Regions from separate parts of the Homo sapiens genome. Here region 2 is linked to region 1. The links are contacts of gene promoters, found by promoter capture Hi-C in blood cells and fetal thymus (Javierre and others, 2016). All regions are on one chromosome and are shown on one strand. Each heading gives the region's core, a stretch centred on a gene start or on the middle of the fragment in contact. The rest is flanking DNA. Distances are from core to core; before and after follow the strand shown.

Region 1 (7,618 bases), core at 5,119-7,618:
AAGGTGCCATTTTATACTGGATCCTAGATCCCCAAAAGAGAGGGAAATACGACAGGAGAAGATAGTGCAGTGCTTTTACCATGCATTTCATTGTAAGACAGCCCAAAGCCAATCAGCCCATTTTATACTCAGCCCATCCCCCATGGGAGTCTCATCTCTCAGTGAGGGTTGGAGATGTTTCCATATCTTCCAGGTGGCCAAGAACATACTTCTCTAATCAAAACTTCAAAGAGCCAAGTATCCCCCCATAACTGCCATTAGCCATCCCCAAAAGTAATTTCCTACCTAGTTATTACACACCAAATTTCTCTCATAATGCGAAGTAATTTCTGATACCCACAAAAGTCAAAACTGTCACCTAATGCAATGCAAAACAGAATAGAGCCTTAGATTTTGAAAGGGATCTATTCTCTTTCAATTCCTGGGCTTCTGTGAGGAAAACAGAGCTTTATCCCAGAATAGGGTCTGTGGTGCCTCCTCTGCTTTTCCCCAGGAGTCCCAGGCTGTTAGAATTTATCTTAAATTCTCTCATGTGGGCATCAAGAGTGGCAAGAAGACAAAATGGAAAAGAACAATTCTGTCTACCAAGGAAAAAAAACTTTTTTCAGGAAAACACAATTCAAGAAGAGGAAAAAGATAAAGTCCTCTTAAATACATATAGCTTGGATATTTCTTTTTAATTAAGCTGATTTTAACCATAGAGATCTTTTTTAAAAAAATAAATAAATCCTTTAAAATTTCTTATTACCAGACTCTAGCCAGGACAGCCGATATTTCTGGCTTTTGATTTCTACCACAGGTAACTTTCTACATGAAATTAATAAGTTTTAGCTAAGGTTATAACTTAACCATGGACATATAAGGTGTCTCAAAGAGATGATAAGCAGTTTCTCTTTTTTTTTTTTTTTTTTTTTTTTTTGGCAAGATTTACAATCTCCCCAAGGGTAGTTTACCAAGGGTAGTTTAGAGAAAGGAAAATCCAAGACAGGAAATCAGAAGCTATCCATGGGGGAAAAACCCTCAATAAATAGCAAAATTACATAAATAACAAACCAGAAAGGAAACTTTCCAGAAGCCAAGAATTGAACCCAGGCCACCACTGTCAAAAAAAAAAGCTTCAGCTACTGAGCTACACAGCATTGAGCAGTTTCTATTGCTCTTCCCAGAAGAAGTCTAGAGCAGCCAATTTCAAGCTTGCAAAGGCTCTTAACTCCTCAAGATAATTTTTAGGGCTAACTATGACATGAACCCCAAAATTCCTGTCCTCTGGATGGCAGAAACCAAGAGACAATATCCTCACATGGTCACAAGGTTAAGCTCTTAAGGACACTAAACAAGACAGAGAAATTTCATCCGGTATTGGTTTCAGGGACCCTCAACAAAGTTTGTTACTGACCAGTCTGCTAGGCTGGCTTGAAAAGCAGGCTTACTGGGGTCCTAAGCCCACGTTCTATCCTGTGATACCCCTCTCTCCATTACAGAAAGACAAATTCTTAGCACAAAGTCAACCAGATTTGCTACAGCCTGACTAGTCTCGCAAATCCTTTTTTCTATTAATCAAACCCTTGCAGAGAAGGCAAATAGTGATGTTTACCATTTATACACACACACACACACACGTGCACACACACACACACACGTGCACACACACACACACACAGATGGGGAGGTACAGAAACCCAGCTGGTAAGAATTTCTTACCCTTTTTGCCAGCATACCAGGTTTCCAGGTTCCCTTTCTCTGCAGCTTCTGGAAGAACAGAGCAGCTTTTGATGACCCTGCTAGTTGTGCCATAGCTGTGGAGGTCAAGCCACTTTACAAAAGAAAATCACCCTTTTCTCTCTTATGGAACCATAAGCAAAAGATTCTCAATTTTGCAAGATGCTGCCCAAGAGGCTGCATGGGGAAACAAACTAACATTTTCCATCCCTGTAAAAGCAAAATATACATAACAAAACAGACACTAGTCATCTCATTCACCACCCAGTATTGACCTGGCAAGGCTCAAACTTTCTCCCATTGGTCCCCATTGTCTTTGATCCACTCCAGGTGGGGAGGAATGACCTCCAACCAGTAATTTGATGGGTGGTCTCTGGGCAAGACGAAGAGCAGATAGTCGTCCTGAGCCAGGCCTGTTGAGCTTTCTTTGGGACTCACCGAATGTGACCAGACAAATAAGGAGGGTTCTCTGAGTTAGGCCTGCTGGACTTTCATCAGCAAGTCCTTCTGAGGTCCCCTCCACATATATAAACACATACAAAGACAAGACAGACAGAAGGGCTTCCAAATCAGATCCCTAACCAAGAACTCCAAGAGTATCCCTTCCAAACTATCCTCCTGTTCTCTGTCTGAGAAATCTCCCCAAAATCTTCCTGATTGAGAAGTCTCCCAAACCAAGACTCTTCCTACTAATTAGAGAGAGCCAACCGAGAATCTCAAATGAACCAAACTGAGAAAGATGCCCCTCAGTGGGGCTACAGACCGACACCCCACCATGGGGCAACAGAAAAACCAAGACCCCCTCCCCAAAGGAATCAAACCAATCGGGAAAAGGAAGGAGGCGTTGGCCGTGCCTAGGATATTCACCAATCCAGACACACTGTAATGAGGCTACAGCTACAGACACTCCATGACTGGGCTACAGACAGACACCTTGTGATAGGGCTACAGTTATAGGACATCTCCTCAAGACTATTTCTCTATTGCAATTAAATCCATGCACACTGGGTCACCAGTGCCCCTTCAGCAGAGACAATACCAGAGTCAGCCCCCAGTCCAAAATAACTAGGCAGCTGCTTGAGCTGGCATCTGAATCCATCACCAGAGGGGGACTACCAAACCATGGGCAGGTAGCCACATGGGCAATCCTGGACAAGCCCCCAGATTTGTAACCACCCAATGAGTTCACCTTGCCCACTGCCTAGACAGAGCCGATTTAACAAGACAGGGAAATTGCGATAGAGAAAGAGTAACTCACACAGAGCCAGCTGTGCAGGAGACCAGAGTTTTATTTATATTTATAGATATAAATTCATAAGAGTTTAATTAGCTCTCAGGCTCACTTCAGGTACATTTCATGACTCCAACTCCTGTTGTACAAAATATCCCTGCTTTTAAACAGTAGATTTAAAACAAACAACCTTGGTTTTCTGGGACTTTTCTTTTATGAGTATTTTTTTATTAATGTAAAGTTTCAAAGAAGGCTAATCAAACACAAAAATATCTGCAAAGAGCCACAATAAGCCTTGAACAACATACAGTCAGTAAAACATCAAGGTTTAAATTGTTGCTTTAACTTCCTTTTGGCTGGAAGCTCCATATTCTGGTAATTCACCAAAATGGCCAACACAAGGAAAACAGGAGAGGCACCCAGTGTATGTTTTCTAGGCCTTTTAGAAAACATGGAGTTGGCCACATGCATGGGAGTCTATAAAAAAGGTGATACTGTAGACATCAAGGGAATGGGTATGGTTCAAAAAGGAATGCCTCACAAGTGTTACCATGGCAAAAACTGGAAGAGTCTATAATGTTACTCAGCATGCTGTTAGCATTGCTGTAGGGAAAAAAAAAAAAAAAAGTTAAGGGCTAGATTCTTGCCAAAAGAATTAATGTGCATATGGAGCACATTAAACACTCTAAGGGAAAAGGTAGTCTCCTGAAATGCATGAAAGAAAATGATCAGAAAAAGAAGAGAGCCAAAGAGAAAGGTACCTGGATTCAGCTGACAGGCCAGCCTGCTGCACCAAGAGAAGCACACTTGGTGAGAACCAATGGAGAGGAGCCAGAGCTACTGGAACCTATTCCCTATGAATTCATGACATAATAGGTGCAAATAATACCACTAATAAAAGACCCTTGGACTGTAAAAAAAAATTGTTCCGTTAATATCAGCCCACAGAAATTGCAGAGAAAGCCAGTAGTAATGCTGCAAAAACAAAATGTAAGGAAATTGACATATAAAAAAGAATCAAATTTTGAAGACTACCAGAAGAGACAAGAGATGACGGTCTTGTATTGCCAGAAAAAGTCAAAAGGACAGTGTTTGATGCTACAATTGTTTTTACCAAGTGTAAGCATTTTCTAAGACAATGGATCAATGTTTCATTTCACCTAATTTTTGCTGAAGAAGAACCTCTTCACAAGTTTTTACCAATAGAAATTTATGATAAATTTTCTGGTGGGCCGGGCACAGTGGCTCACACCTGTAATCCCAGCACTTTGGGAGGCTGAGGCGGGCAGATCACCTGAGGTCAGGAGTTCGAGACCAGCCCGGCCAACATGGTGAAACCCCGTCTCTACTAAAAATACAAAAAAAATTAGCCAGGCATGGTGGTGGGCGCCTGTAATCCCAGTTACTTGTGAGGCTGAGGCATGAGAATCGCTTGAACCCAGGAGGTGGAGGTTGCAGTGAGCCGAGACCGCACCATTGCACTCCAGCCTGGGCAACAAGAAAGAAACTCCGTCTCAAAAAAATATATATATATCCTGGTGAAAACATCTTAGTGAAATTTTTCAACTGCAAAGACAATTGAAAACTACAAGAATTGCTCCCAAAGAAACAAAACATGAATGGTAATTGTAATTTCTGTAATTTATTGTAAATTTCTTTAATTGTGAAGTGTGATTTGTATAAATCTGTCAATGTATTTATATGTTCATGACTTTTCCTATTTGCATATTTGTTCCTTCATATTAAAGAAACTTTTCAAAATTAAAATTAGCAAAGAAGTGTTCTTTGGTCACCTATAAGCTGACAAAGTGACAAATCTATACGTCTACTGAATATGTACATGTAAAGAGGAGTGAATTCATTTCCTAAGACTGCTGTAACAAACTATCACAAACTGTGGAACTTAAAACAACAGAAATTTATTGTTTTGTGGCTCTGGAGGCTAGAAGTAAGAAAGCGATGTGTTAGCAGCAGGGTCATGCTCTCTGACAGATCTGAAAAAGAATGCGTTTTATACCTTTCCCTTGGCTTCAGGTGTGCTCCAGCAATCCTTGGTGTTCATTCATTGATTTGCAACTGCTTGACTCCATAATCTCTGCTTTCAAGGTCACATGGCTTTCTGCCTGTATGTCTCTGTCTTTACCTGGTCAGCATCACCCTGTGTCCATCTCTCTCTCTTCATGCGCATTTTTTTTTTTTTTTTTTTTGAGATAGAGCCTCACTCTGTCGCCCAGTCTAGAGTGCAGTGCCCGATCTCAGCTCACTGCAACCTCCACCTCCCGGGTTCAAGCTATTCTCCTGCCTCAGCCTCCCGAGTAGCTAGAATTACAGGCATGAGCCACCACGCCCGGCTAATTTTTGTGTTTTTAGTAGAGACGGGGTTTCGCCATGTTGGCCAGGCTGGTCTCGAATTCCTGACCTCAGGTGATCCGCCCGCCTCGGCCTCCCAAAGTGCTGGAATTACAGGAGTGAGCCACCGTGCCCGGCCTGCATATATGTATGTACGTATATATGTGTCTATCTATCTAGCTAGCTAGACACTAGGCATTTTGGATTAGGCGCCCACCTATGCCTGCATGACTTCATCTTAACAAATGACATCTGCAATGACCCTATTTCCACATAAGGTCACATTCTGAGTTACTGCAGGTTAGGACTTAACATAGCTTTTTGGGGACGGGAAGAATCATGGGGAAGACACAATTCAACCCATAACAAGGAATAATTTTGACAGTCATTGCCAATTTGCAGATGTTAAGGCTCAAAAACAAACTATAATATTATTGTTCATTAACACATAAATGTGTAGGTATGTTTTTTCCCCTTAAAAAGACACACTGGTGTAATTAAAAACAATCTACTACTTTTCCCTTTAGTGCTGTAATTTTTTTAACTGGAGTGATTACTTCAATAAAAGAAAAATTTCACTATCTGCGTTTCTTTTCCGGGCATCGTTATTATCCATCTCACCATTACTACTGAAAATCACTGTGTTAAAAACAATGCGTACAGGTGTCAACCAGGCCAGCTGGCCACTGCTGGACCCGGTAGGGCCGTCAGCCCGCAGGACCCCGAACCCTCCGGGTGCCTTTCTCTTCAGACGCTCTCTTTCCCAGGAGTCTCCGCGGCGGAGCGCCCCATCGCCCTAAATGCCACTGGCTGACGCAGCCCCAAAAAAAACCCGATGGCCCGCTTATCCCACACTAGGGGGCGCCTGGTTCTTCGGCCGCCACAGAGCGCTCTGGATGCCTGAAGCCCGCCCAGCTCGCCGCCTCTGGAAAAGCTCAACACCGTTTCTCCGCCCTTCCCGAGATTGCCAACGAGGCAGGCTCTGATGCGCATGCGCAAACACGTTCACCACGCTCCGAGCTAAGGCGCATGCGTTCCCTGAAATTGCCGCCACCGGCTCTACCTTCCAGTTTCCAGTTCCGGCCTCCAAGGGGCGGGCAGAAGTTGGAAACATGCGGCTGTCGGTCGCTGCAGCGATCTCCCATGGCCGCGTATTTCGCCGTATGGGCCTCGGTCCCGAGTCCCGCATCCATCTGTTGCGGAACTTGCTCACAGGGCTGGTGCGGCACGAACGCATCGAGGCACCATGGGCGCGTGTGGACGAAATGAGGGGCTACGCGGAGAAGGTGAGGAGCGCGGCCCTCTTGTCCACTCTGCGGGTCTGGTCTGAGGGGGCGGAGCCGGCTGCAAGTGGAAAGGGACCGGGACCAACCTGGTAAACCATTCCCCAAGTCTGAGTCCCCCAGAACCTTGGGCTGAACCCGCCCCTCCATCGCCTCTAATGGAAGACTGGTTAGGGCTGCGGAGTTAGGGGTGGCGTAGATTGGAGATGCTTGGCTAGTGGAAAGAATGGATTGCCTTCCGGCATTAGAGAAATTAGATTGGCACCTTGTTTTCTTGCTCGGTTGGATCCGTGATGTTATGTCCTCACAGCTCATCGACTATGGGAAGCTGGGAGACACTAACGAACGAGCCATGCGCATGGCTGACTTCTGGCTCACAGTGAGTGCGACCTATCTGCCTTCAAAATCCCACCCTTTGCTCCCTGGGGGTGGGGGTTGGAAAAAGGAGAACTATGCAGAATTAAACTTGGGTACTCACTTATGGGCCAGTGCTGCTAACTAAATTAGAAACTGTGTCTTAAGTTAGTTGAAGTCGATGTGAATATACCTCTGCACAACTGCCTATAAACGACCCCTTTGTGTAACACTGACTATGCCAGATTGGCGAGGGGAGGGGGAGGTCTTTCTATGTGTGGATGGACCTTACCTTTGGGAATGGTGTAAAGTTAAATGCCTCTGCAGTTTTGCCTGACTCTGCTGTCTCTTGGATAATTCTCCCTCTAGGAGAAGGATTTGATCCCAAAGCTGTTTCAAGTACTGGCCCCTCGGTACAAAGATCAAACTGGGGGCTACACAAGAATGCTGCAGATCCCAAATCGGAGTTTGGATCGGGCCAAGATGGCAGTGATCGAGTATAAAGGGAATTGCCTCCCACCCCTGCCTCTGCCTCGCAGAGACAGCCACCTTACACTCCTAAACCAGCTGCTGCAGGGTTTGCGGCAGGACCTCAGGCAAAGCCAGGAAGCAAGCAACCACAGCTCCCACACAGCTCAAACACCAGGGATTTAACTGGATCTGAAGAGTCTGCAGCCCTTAA
Region 2 (4,067 bases), core at 1,568-4,067, 57 kb after region 1:
CGTACAAATTCTAAAATGCATAATGTCACAGCTATGCCCTCCAGGCCTCCCTCAGATACTGCAGCCATTTAACAGAGGAGCATTTTGATACTGAATATTGGAGAGGTCAAGTGACTTGCTCAAGCTCATGCAGCTTGGAAGTGGCAGGGCTGGGACTTGAACCCAGATCTTTTCATACCTCATTTAGTGCCTTTCCTGTTACACCACCACTAGTCCAAGATATATCTTGCATGCACCAAGCATGGGAGGTAGGACACATGTATGTTTATGTATGCATGACACATGTGTGCCTGAGAGGTATGGAGAGATGGACATTTTCTGGTTTGTGTGCACCTAGTGAACATGTATGAACACTGTGTGGTGTGGATTTCTCCATGTGGTGAGGGCAGACTAGACCTCATTGATTTTGCTTCCCCACAGTGTATGCCCAGGACAGGGGCTCACCTCCTCAGTTAACGCATGTCACTGTTCGAGTGGCTGTGGAGGATGAGAATGACCATGCACCAACCTTTGGGAGTGCCCATCTCTCTCTGGAGGTGCCTGAGGGCCAGGACCCCCAGACCCTTACCATGCTTCGGGCCTCTGATCCAGATGTGGGAGCCAATGGGCAGTTGCAGTACCGCATCCTAGGTGAGAACCTTCCCACTCCCACTTAATTCAGCACCCACTTGCCTGGTTCTTGCTCCTTCTTGGCTGCTGTCAGCCTCAGTGCATGTGTCTGGGTCTCCTTTTCCCTCTTGATGTCGTCCACCTTTTCTTTCATGCTTATACCCAGTGTAGCTAGGTATCTCATTCCATGCTCTTTATCTCCCTGTGTGTCTCTGTTTCTATCTTCCTATTTCTTTTCTTTCTCATTTGTCTCTCCCTGTAGAGCAGTCGTTCTCAAATTTTTGGTCTCAAAAACCCTTAACACTCTTAATTTTTGAGAACCCTAAGGAGTTTTTATGTGGATTATATCAGTATTTACTGTATTAGATAATAAAACTGAGATGATGTTAAAATATGATTGTGAAACAAGCCAATGAAGTATACAGCTTGCCAGTATTTCTGTGTAAGCACAAGGAAATACTAAGATTTCAAGTAACAATTTGTTGGAAAGTAGTTAATTTCAGAGATTAAAGCAGGTATAATTGAAGATAGCCAGAACAAACTGAATCTCTGAAGACACACAGATTCATGCTCTAAACTTTCTGTCTAGAATATTCTAGAACACACAGGAATACATAAGCACACATTCCCTTAACCAAGACATTATATCATCACGTCATAGAGCATCTGTAAATTCTACTGTACATCTGTGAGATGAGAATAAAAAGGCCATATAATGGCTTAGTAGTGCTATGAAATAATTTTGATCTTATGCACATGAAAAGGACTTGGGGGACTCCCGGGGTTCCCAGACCACACACAAATGATACCAGCTGCTTTATAGTATCTTCTTTTACTTTCTGTTTCTGTTTTTCTTCCTTTCTCTCATAAGGTTCACTTGCTTTTGTGCACATGCTCACTCTCTCCTGTTGTCTGTAAATCACCCCCATCCCCACGACACATGTATATTTATATGTGCATGCCCTTCTCTGCAGATGGGGACCCATCAGGAGCCTTTGTCCTAGACCTTGCTTCTGGAGAGTTTGGCACCATGCGGCCACTAGACAGAGAAGTGGAGCCAGCTTTCCAGCTGAGGATAGAGGCCCGGGATGGAGGCCAGCCAGCTCTCAGTGCCACGCTGCTTTTGACAGTGACAGTGCTGGATGCCAATGACCATGCTCCAGCCTTTCCTGTGCCTGCCTACTCGGTGGAGGTGCCGGAGGATGTGCCTGCAGGGACCCTGCTGCTGCAGCTACAGGCTCATGACCCTGATGCTGGAGCTAATGGCCATGTGACCTACTACCTGGGCGCCGGTACAGCAGGAGCCTTCCTGCTGGAGCCCAGCTCTGGAGAACTGCGCACAGCTGCAGCCTTGGACAGAGAACAGTGTCCCAGCTACACCTTTTCTGTGAGTGCAGTGGATGGTGCAGCTGCTGGGCCCCTAAGCACCACAGTGTCTGTCACCATCACGGTGCGCGATGTCAATGACCATGCACCCACCTTCCCCACCAGTCCTCTGCGCCTACGTCTGCCCCGCCCAGGCCCCAGCTTCAGTACCCCAACCCTGGCTCTGGCCACACTGAGAGCTGAAGATCGTGATGCTGGTGCCAATGCTTCCATTCTGTACCGGCTGGCAGGCACACCACCTCCTGGCACTACTGTGGACTCTTACACTGGTGAAATCCGCGTGGCCCGCTCTCCTGTAGCTCTAGGCCCCCGAGATCGTGTCCTCTTCATTGTGGCCACTGATCTTGGCCGTCCAGCTCGCTCTGCCACTGGTGTGATCATTGTTGGACTGCAGGGGGAAGCTGAGCGTGGACCCCGCTTTCCCCGGGCTAGCAGTGAGGCTACGATTCGTGAGAATGCGCCCCCAGGTGGGTCCCCAGCCATTTCTTCCAGATTCAGACTCCCAAATGGGCTGGGGTTGTGCTTTGAAAATGTCCCCCAAACTCTCCCAGTCTCGCGCTCACAGTCCAACAATACCGTTCTTTCTGCAGGGACTCCTATTGTCTCCCCCAGGGCCGTCCATGCAGGAGGCACAAATGGACCCATCACCTACAGCATTCTCAGTGGGAATGAGAAAGGGACATTCTCCATCCAGCCTAGTACAGGTAAGAAATAGGAGCAGGGGCTCTGTGCAGGACAGGCTACTGGGGAAGCAGGTTCTTTGCATCAGAGGAGCCTTTGATGGGTGAAGGGCTGTCCTTGAGTAAGGGGTCTTAGAGAAGGAGGCTCCAGGGCAAGCAAAGGGGGCTATCACTGATGCATTCTATCTCGCCCAGGTGCCATCACAGTTCGCTCAGCAGAGGGGCTAGACTTCGAGGTGAGTCCACGGCTGCGACTGGTGCTGCAGGCAGAGAGTGGAGGAGCCTTTGCCTTCACTGTGCTGACCCTGACCCTGCAAGATGCCAACGACAATGCTCCCCGTTTCCTGCGGCCCCATTATGTGGCCTTCCTTCCTGAGTCCCGGCCCTTGGAGGGGCCCCTGCTGCAGGTGCGGGGTGTGATGGAAAGATTGGGCGGGGGAGCAGGGCTAGTCAGACTTGTCTGTGGCCAGACCAGTCCCAGCAGCCTCCTACCCTCACCAGGTGGAGGCGGATGACCTGGATCAAGGCTCTGGAGGACAGATTTCCTACAGTCTGGCTGCATCCCAGCCGGCACGTGGATTGTTCCACGTAGACCCAACCACAGGCACTATCACTACCACAGCCATCCTGGACCGTGAGATCTGGGCTGAAACACGGTGAGGCCTGGCCCTGTGGACCCAAGACCCCATCTTGGGCCTGTCCAGTTTCAAGCCCTGCCTTGAACTCATCTGGTCCCTTGGCCACATCCTGAATTCCCCAGCCCTAAGCTCTGTCCTGAGTCCTCCTGGCCCTGCCCAGAGTTCCCCCTTATTGCCATGTCCCACCCGATGATTGTGCTTTGTGTCCAGGTTGGTGCTGATGGCCACAGACAGAGGGAGCCCAGCCCTGGTGGGCTCAGCTACCTTGACGGTGATGGTCATCGACACCAATGACAATCGCCCCACCATCCCCCAACCCTGGGAGCTCCGAGTGTCAGAAGGTGAGGCTGGGTAAAGTGGGTGGCATAAAGGGTGGCAGAGAGACATTTTTCTCCACCCTGCAGCTCAAGGTGGGGCTGTGTCCATTGCCAAACACACTAGTCTCATGTATTCCAGATGCGTTATTGGGCTCAGAGATTGCACAGGTAACAGGGAATGATGTGGACTCAGGACCCGTGCTGTGGTATGTGCTAAGCCCATCTGGGCCCCAGGATCCCTTCAGTGTTGGCCGCTATGGAGGCCGTGTCTCCCTCACGGGGCCCCTGGACTTTGAGCAGTGTGACCGCTACCAGCTGCAGCTGCTGGCACATGATGGGCCTCATGAGGGCCGTGCCAACCTCACAGTGCTTGTGGAGGATGTCAATGACAATGCACCTGCCTTCTCACAGAGCCTCTACCAGGTATTGACACCCAT

What was found. The method cuts DNA at HindIII sites, captures the fragments that hold promoters and counts their contacts. A CHiCAGO score of 5 or more calls a contact.
Region 2: a contact is called between a fragment that was not itself captured here and the fragment with the promoter of MRPL17 in region 1, in 2 of 17 cell types (non-activated CD4 T cells and activated CD4 T cells). The highest score is 5.5, in non-activated CD4 T cells.

The regions. Positions count from the first base shown.
Region 1 is chr11:6,682,090-6,689,707 of GRCh38, reverse strand. MRPL17 (mitochondrial ribosomal protein L17) reads left to right here and starts at 6,368. Exons shown (of 3, transcript NM_022061.4): 1 at 6,368-6,585; 2 at 6,893-6,961; 3 at 7,306-7,618. The coding sequence starts at 6,412. The coding sequence ends at 7,590. It also overlaps the pseudogene RPL21P94. RefSeq lists enhancers at 6,208-6,647, 6,064-6,826. The HindIII fragment of the contact is 17,410 bases long and covers 1,196-7,618 here.
Region 2 is chr11:6,625,184-6,629,250 of GRCh38, reverse strand. It overlaps DCHS1 (dachsous cadherin-related 1), which reads left to right. Exons shown (of 21, transcript NM_003737.4): 13 at 421-630; 14 at 1,584-2,462; 15 at 2,586-2,699; 16 at 2,871-3,082; 17 at 3,177-3,331; 18 at 3,524-3,654; 19 at 3,770-4,053. Among named protein-coding and RNA genes, the nearest start is that of TPP1, 7.8 kb to the right of the region's middle. RefSeq lists an enhancer at 1,331-1,420. The HindIII fragment of the contact is 6,198 bases long and covers 1-4,067 here.